2 separate regions of the Homo sapiens genome follow, and region 1 is linked to region 2. The links are contacts of gene promoters, found by promoter capture Hi-C in blood cells and fetal thymus (Javierre and others, 2016). All regions are on one chromosome and are shown on one strand. Each heading gives the region's core, a stretch centred on a gene start or on the middle of the fragment in contact. The rest is flanking DNA. Distances are from core to core; before and after follow the strand shown.

What was found. The method cuts DNA at HindIII sites, captures the fragments that hold promoters and counts their contacts. A CHiCAGO score of 5 or more calls a contact.
Region 1: a fragment that was not itself captured here is called in contact with the fragment with the promoter of IFT70B in region 2 in 1 of 17 cell types (total B cells); the score reaches 5.3 in total B cells.

What each region holds. Positions count from the first base shown.
Region 1 is chr2:177,166,244-177,169,601 of GRCh38, forward strand. No RefSeq gene overlaps it. Among named protein-coding and RNA genes, the nearest start is that of MIR4444-1, 45 kb to the right of the region's middle. RefSeq lists enhancers at 558-1,076, 2,078-2,372, 3,257-3,358. The HindIII fragment of the contact is 3,119 bases long and covers 1-2,818 here.
Region 2 is chr2:177,550,897-177,554,199 of GRCh38, forward strand. It overlaps IFT70B (intraflagellar transport 70B), which reads right to left and starts at 1,900. Exons shown (of 1, transcript NM_152517.3): 1 at 1-1,900. The coding sequence starts at 1,867. RefSeq lists enhancers at 900-1,704, 1,705-2,508, 1,877-2,166. The HindIII fragment of the contact is 6,507 bases long and covers 732-3,303 here.

The sequences.
Region 1 (3,358 bases), core at 9-2,508, 390 kb before region 2:
GAGAACATTCAGAAAGTGAAAATGAAGTTTGAGGAAGTCAAAAATGCTGCATAGCAAATGACGCAGAAGCTCAATGTGTCTGCATTGTAAAGAAAGGTCAGGTTTAATCCTTTGTTATCAGTCGTAATTTTGCTGGTCCCTTTCAGGAGACATCATGACAGGGAAACTACATTAACCACAATTTGGTATGCCCTAATCTTCATGCTAACTACAGTTTTCTTTTGTTACTTACTGGCCTTGACCTTTAGATGGACGGCATCAGGTGCTACTGAAACCAGCAGATCTCTCTCTAAAGCCTAGTGCAGGCCTGAGTCATATGCAGTTTAATTCATATTCCACTCAACATGCCCGTTTTATTTCCAGTGGAAATTGCTCATTTAATTGCACTGTACGTTTTATGGGGTATGCCCCAGGCTGCGTTCTTTATGCTAGGCATTTCAGTATTTATGGGCATAGCTATACCCAAAACTTCAAACATAAAAGTAAAACCAGCAAAATATGCTCTCCTCCAGTTCCATAAATGCTTTTCACCAGTTTCATTATTTTTTCCAATGAGATTAAATGGGTGTGTTAAACCTGTAACATAGACTATTACTTGGTGTTTCCAGAGCTTCTTTTGTCCTTCATATTCAAATCCAATACAGCCCCTTTTTCCTGCTTCTGAATGAGACTGCAAAGAGCAAGTATGGTCCTTCTGTGTATGGTCTAGCGCCCAGGAACAATAAAGACTTCCTCTGTTGGTAGCCTATAGAATTTTTATCTGTGAGAATAACCTGTAAAAGGTTTTGGTGTTTTTTGTTTTTTAATGAACTGTGCCTGCTTCTAAGTCACACCTACACCCACTAAAACACTGGATTAAAGATCGAATGTGGCCGGGCGCAGTGGCTCATGCCTGTAATCCCAGCACTTTGGGAGGCACAGGCGGGCGGATCACGAGGTCAGGAGATCGAGACCATCCTGGCTAACACAGTGAAACCCCGTCTCTACTAAAAATACAAAAAAATTAGCCCGGCGTGGTGGCGGGCGCCTGTAGTCCCAGCTACTCCGGAGGCTGAGGCAGGAGAACGGCGTGAACCCGGGAGGCGGAGCTTGCAGTGAGCCGAGATGGCGCCACTGCACTCCAGCCTGGGCCACAGAGCGAGACTCCGTCTCAAAAAAAAAAAAAAAAAAAAAAAAGATCGAATGTGTGTGTTGCAAAATAAATAAATATGTCAGCCTTGTACTGCAGATGGCTCCTGTGTTTTAGGGCAGGAGCAGACAGACATATGATTTTACCTGTAGCAGATCAGAAGGCATTCCCATACTACCCAAATGCAGAAAGGGCTCTACTATGTTTTACTAAACCTATGACTGTTTTTATCTGCTGTTATCCATCCCACTATATGAAATATACGAAAGCATGTTTCCAGGAAATTCCAGAGTTTTAGACAAACGCTTCTTGATAAAAGCCATTAATGGCTTTTTAGACAGTTTAAGTAGAATGGTACAAACAGAAGCCTCATCACAGGGGTTTCAGAAAAGGAAAACAAAAAGACAATAGGTATAGAACGACTCATTTGTCTATAGATTTGGAAAATGTCATAGGGTCGAGTGAAGATATTTGCCAAATTGAAGGAGGTAAGGACATATTTAGAGCCTCTGGGAAAGATGACAGATCTCAAGGACTAAGATTTGAATGCCGGAACAAAGCAGAATAGAAAAAGACTAGAGTTGTGTTTTCAAAAGAATAGGGAATATTTCGTAGACTTAGAAGGAGCTAGAGGTGGTAGCCTGAACTTTAGGAATAGGAATTCTTAGTGATTTGCCTGCAGTGTAGTAGATGTCAATGACTGAAGGATGACTGAGGATCTTAAGAAAGATGTGGCTTCTTCTTTCTCAGAAAAGCCACAGGGAGTGACCCCTGCAAATCCTTCCGAGTATAAGGTGTACACCCAGTGACAGCCTTCCTCACAGGACATAGTTATCACAGCATTGATGTGATCATTCCTCTCTTAATTAGGATTCAGTGCAGATGCAATTGGCTGAAAACCCAAAATAACAGTGGCTTAGGTAAGATAGAAATTATAGTCATTATTGGGATTATCCACACATTCTGGTTCTCCTGCTTTTAGGGCAAATAGACTACTTGCCTACCTTTTTGAAGTTAGATATGGTATGTGACTTGCATTAGTCAGCAAAATGGCATGTGTTATTTTCAGTTCCAAGCCTTATCAGTATACAATTCACTACATTCCTTTTGTCTTTGTCAGCAATGGTGGAAGCATTGGTTGACATGGACACTGTCAGCCTGGCTTTCTGAGTACCCACAATGAGCAGAGTCCCCCTGCTGACCAGCAATGGACATGTGGTGTGATCAAGAATAAACTTGCGCTGGGCATGGTGGCTCACGCCTGTAATCCCAGCACTTTGGGAGTCCAAGGCAGGCAGATCACAAGGTCAGGAGTTCGAGACCGGCCTAACCAACATGATGAAACCCCATCTCTACTAAATATACAAAAATTAGCCAGGTGTGGTGGCGCGTGCCTGTAATCCCAGCTACTCAGGAGGCTGAGGCAGGAGAATCACTTGGAGGAGGTTGCAGTGAGCTGAGATCACACTACTGCACTCCAGCCTGGGCAGCAGAGTGAGACTCCATCTCAAAAAAAAAAATAGAATAAACTTGTTGTTTTGAGTCACGGGTTAAATTTCTTTCTCACACAAAAGTCTGAGTGGTGGGGCTAGGACTGATACAGTGATTCATGGTTTGAGGGACCCAAGGTCCTCTGTCTTGCTGTTCAGCTGTGCTTGGCATGCTCATGCTTCATGGTTACAGCACTCAAGCTTTAAGCAGCAGGAAGCAGGAAGGCATGGAGAGGCAAAGGGTGTGCTGCACGTCAAGGAAGGCTCCCAGAAGCTCTCTTCCACTTGGAAACCTTTGGCCAGAACTTGGTCCCATGGCTGCACCTATAGTTGCAAGGGAAAGGGAATCAACGAAGACTGGGTGAGGCCAGCCAAAAATTGTGGGTTATTTGACCACATAAAGGGACCCGGAGGACTGCATTCTGCCTTAACTCTCAAGAACTCCTTGTATAAATGTGGAGATGATAGGATTGCACTGTCCCTCCCCATTTTTCATAAAAATAAAGAAGTAGTGAGAATATTGATCAATGTGGATGATGAGAGATTGAGGCCACCCTAACTAATTTAGTTGTTGGAAGGGGGATTTTTTTCTTCCCCAACACCTCCGTTGGTAAGAGATTATAAGACAACCATCTTCATTATGACCTTCAACAAGATTTGAAATGGACTCTTTGTAGTCATTTCATGTACTTGCTCATCTGGCTACTTTTAAAGAAACAAATTCAAATTTCTATTATCT
Region 2 (3,303 bases), core at 650-3,149:
CATGAAGTTCACAGTGTTCTAGAAACTGGACACATTCTTGAATAACACTATCACGAAGCATGATTGTGTGTTTTGACATGTTTTCTAACAAGGACAGGAAGCATCTTTTGGCATAATACCAGGTGTCTGTTCCCAGCTTTTTGTTGTAAGGTTCCAAGCTTTTGATAACTCGAGAAATACCAAAGTCATAATTTCCTTTGGCACAATAAAGAGTTCCTATCACCAAATTCACAATGCAGAGATGGTACATTTTCTTATCTGGGTCATCATAAGAGAGCTGCTCTTCCTCCTTTTCAATCTTCCTCATCAACTCCTCTGCTTCTTCATTTTGACTTGTCATAATATAGGAAACACAGAGATTAGCCAGTACAATAGCACTGACATTCAGGATGTTATCATAATGCTTCTTGACTATGGGTTCATAGAAACCAATGGCTTCTTTGTATTTGTTTTCCTGCATGAACAGAACATGAGCCACATTCAACTTCCACACATCATGGTCGTTACAGAATTCCACAGATTTGCGGAAGATCTTTTCCACCATTGGATAATTTTCAAGATTCCAGTAGATTTTTGCCTGAGCCATCAACACAGGAATGTATTTCTCCATGGTTTCATCATATTCATTCACTGCCTTTTTGATAGCTTCATCATCTCTATTGTGTCTTGCTTCCTGTACTTGTATGGTAAGTTTCCGGAGGACCTCAGTCAGCATCCCTGCTAGCCCATCAAGCTTAATGAAAGCCTCTTCAGGAGCTGTCTGGCAAGTGATCACAGCGTCCAAGAAGTCATAGAGATAGGGTGTGAGGAACTTATAAATCAAATGGGCATTTTCTGCCAGGACATCTGCTGCCAGGTCAAAATACTCATATTTACAGTAGAGCAGCAACAGGTTGCCAAAAGTCTCTGGAGGAAAGGGATTCTGTTGGAGCAAAAACTGTAGCTTTTCAAACCCTTCTGTAGGCCTGGCATCCATGTTCATTAGTGCCTGGTTGTGTAGGGTCACAGGGTCCAACTCTTCCTCTGCCCTGGGTGGCATGTCAGTGAGGGCTTCTTGAGCTGCCTCATAGTTTCTCAGTTGGTATTCTATAGCTGCCTTAAGGTTGAAGGCTTCCACCAGAGCAGTCTGATGGAGGACTAAGGTGTTGCCAACACTGCGAACATCAATGCCCTCAGTGGTCATGCCCACACCTAGCTCAGGGTGCTGGCGGATGCCACGCTCAATAATCTCAGCGATATGCTTCAGTGCTGAAGCATACTGTCGGCTGCTGTAATAGGCCAAAGCCAGGTTGTAGGAAAGGTCAGGCTGGTAGCCCGAGGCCTGCAGGGCGGCAAAAAACTTGGAGCATGCAGCTTCATACTGTCCCTCCTTGTAGAGCAAACAACCCAGGTTGATCTGGCCATCGGTCTCATTCTCGCCCCCACTTTCCTCTCCCCCTTCCCTACTCGGCAGCTGCTCTACCAGGCTCCTGGACCCTGGCAGATCGCCCTCGCTGTACTTGATAGCAGCTTGCAGGCGGAGGACCCGGCTGTGGTAGGCGGGGTTATCCAGGAGAAGGAAGGCGACCCGGGTGGCCTCCGCATAAAGGCAGGCCTTGTACAGGGCCTGGGCCTGGTACAGGCGGTACTGCTCCAGTTCCGGGTGCAGCTGGCCCAGCTGCTCATAGCACTCGGCCGCCAGCGCGAACTCCTGCAGGCGGTAGTAGCAGTAGCCTAGCAGCGACAGGCCGGCGCGGCTCCTAGGGCTCCGCTGCAGTTCTCCGCCCAGCAGCTGCACCGCCTCGGCGTAGCGTGCATTGCGGATGAGGCGGTACACGACCGCGGTGAACTCCCCGTCGGGGATCTGCGCGCCGCTCAGGCCAGCCATAACCACCACGGCTGTTATGGGTGCGGTTACTATGGCAACAGAGCAACCGGAAGCGGAAGACTGCCGGTTTCCTTGTCGCAAGAAATCTGTTAGGAACAAAAAGGGACCACTCTCGTCAGTCTCTCAATTTCAGCTTGATCTTCAAATACTCTGGACTGCGGAGTGGCGGCATTCAGGAGGGGAAAGACTACTCCGGGCCGTTCAGAGACTGAATCTACTCGTCCCGGCATGCACCGTTCCAGTGGTTCCGCGGCGCGGGTCGTAGCCGCGCTGCATGCTGGGAGACGTAGTCCCGGCTGTACCTACCGAACCGGCGGCCCGTGGGGGTGCAGGGTAACTCTCCTTCCCTGCCTCTTAAAGATGAGGGGCGCTCACTGTGTCTGTTATGGCACCGTGGTCTCTGGCGCGGCGGAGGAAGGTTTCCGGCCCCATGTTCCTGGCGATTTTGAGCCTGGTACACGGTGTGGTCGATAATAATGCTGGCTTTTGGTTTAGTTTCAGTAAAAGAACCGGGATGGCAAAAGGCGAGTTATCTCTTGGAATTACCCTGGAATTAGAGCACGTTCTTTTTTGCACTACCCCGAGGGCACAGTTTGTAAGAACGGAATAGAGCGGCGAGCAGGAATCCTTAATTTGGTGGTTTCCAGAGGTTAATGAGGAAAAAGGACTGTGAATCTTGATTGGTACTGGGAGAGTTTCGGTTTTAGGTCCAAGTATCTCCCGCTCTTTTTTCCCGTAACAACAAATATTACTGAGTATATATTGGCGTTTACCCTTGGCCATCCCCATTGCGCTGGAGTTCCAACTTTCACTACTAGGTAGAAACGTTGGAGAAATGCATGACTTCAGTTTTTTCCAAGAGGGGAAAATCCAAGACATTAAAATGTGCTCCTTTCCCTATGCATTTTTACTCTTCTCTCTTAACTACTAAATTAGTCAGCCAGTGATGTGTGGGTGTGTGAGAGACACACATGCTCAGTTTGTACTTTTCAGCCTTCTAGGGATTTTGGATATTGAACTGATAAATATGGATTTTCTTCTGTTAAAATAAGAAAAGATTGCCTACACTTTAATTTTTTTTCCAGATTCTTAGTTTGAAGATTTCTATGCAGGTTTGCTAGACTGTACAAGATATCATTCTGGGTTTTCTTTCATTCTTTGTTATATATTTGGAATAGATGCTGTAGATTCCATGTTATTATCCTGGGGCTATTTTTGTATAATTTTTTTTCAGTTTATTAGTGGCCATGATGGGGCTGTGAAAAACTAGGGGCTTAATTATTCCATAAAATTATATTTAATCACCAATTTAAAAAATACCCCTAGATAAACTGACCTGGAGACCATAGACTTTAAGGGAGAATAAATACAATTTTTCAATCAAGAATTAGGGACATAGACAAGATAGCAAAATATGAATTTGGCTTATCCCAGTG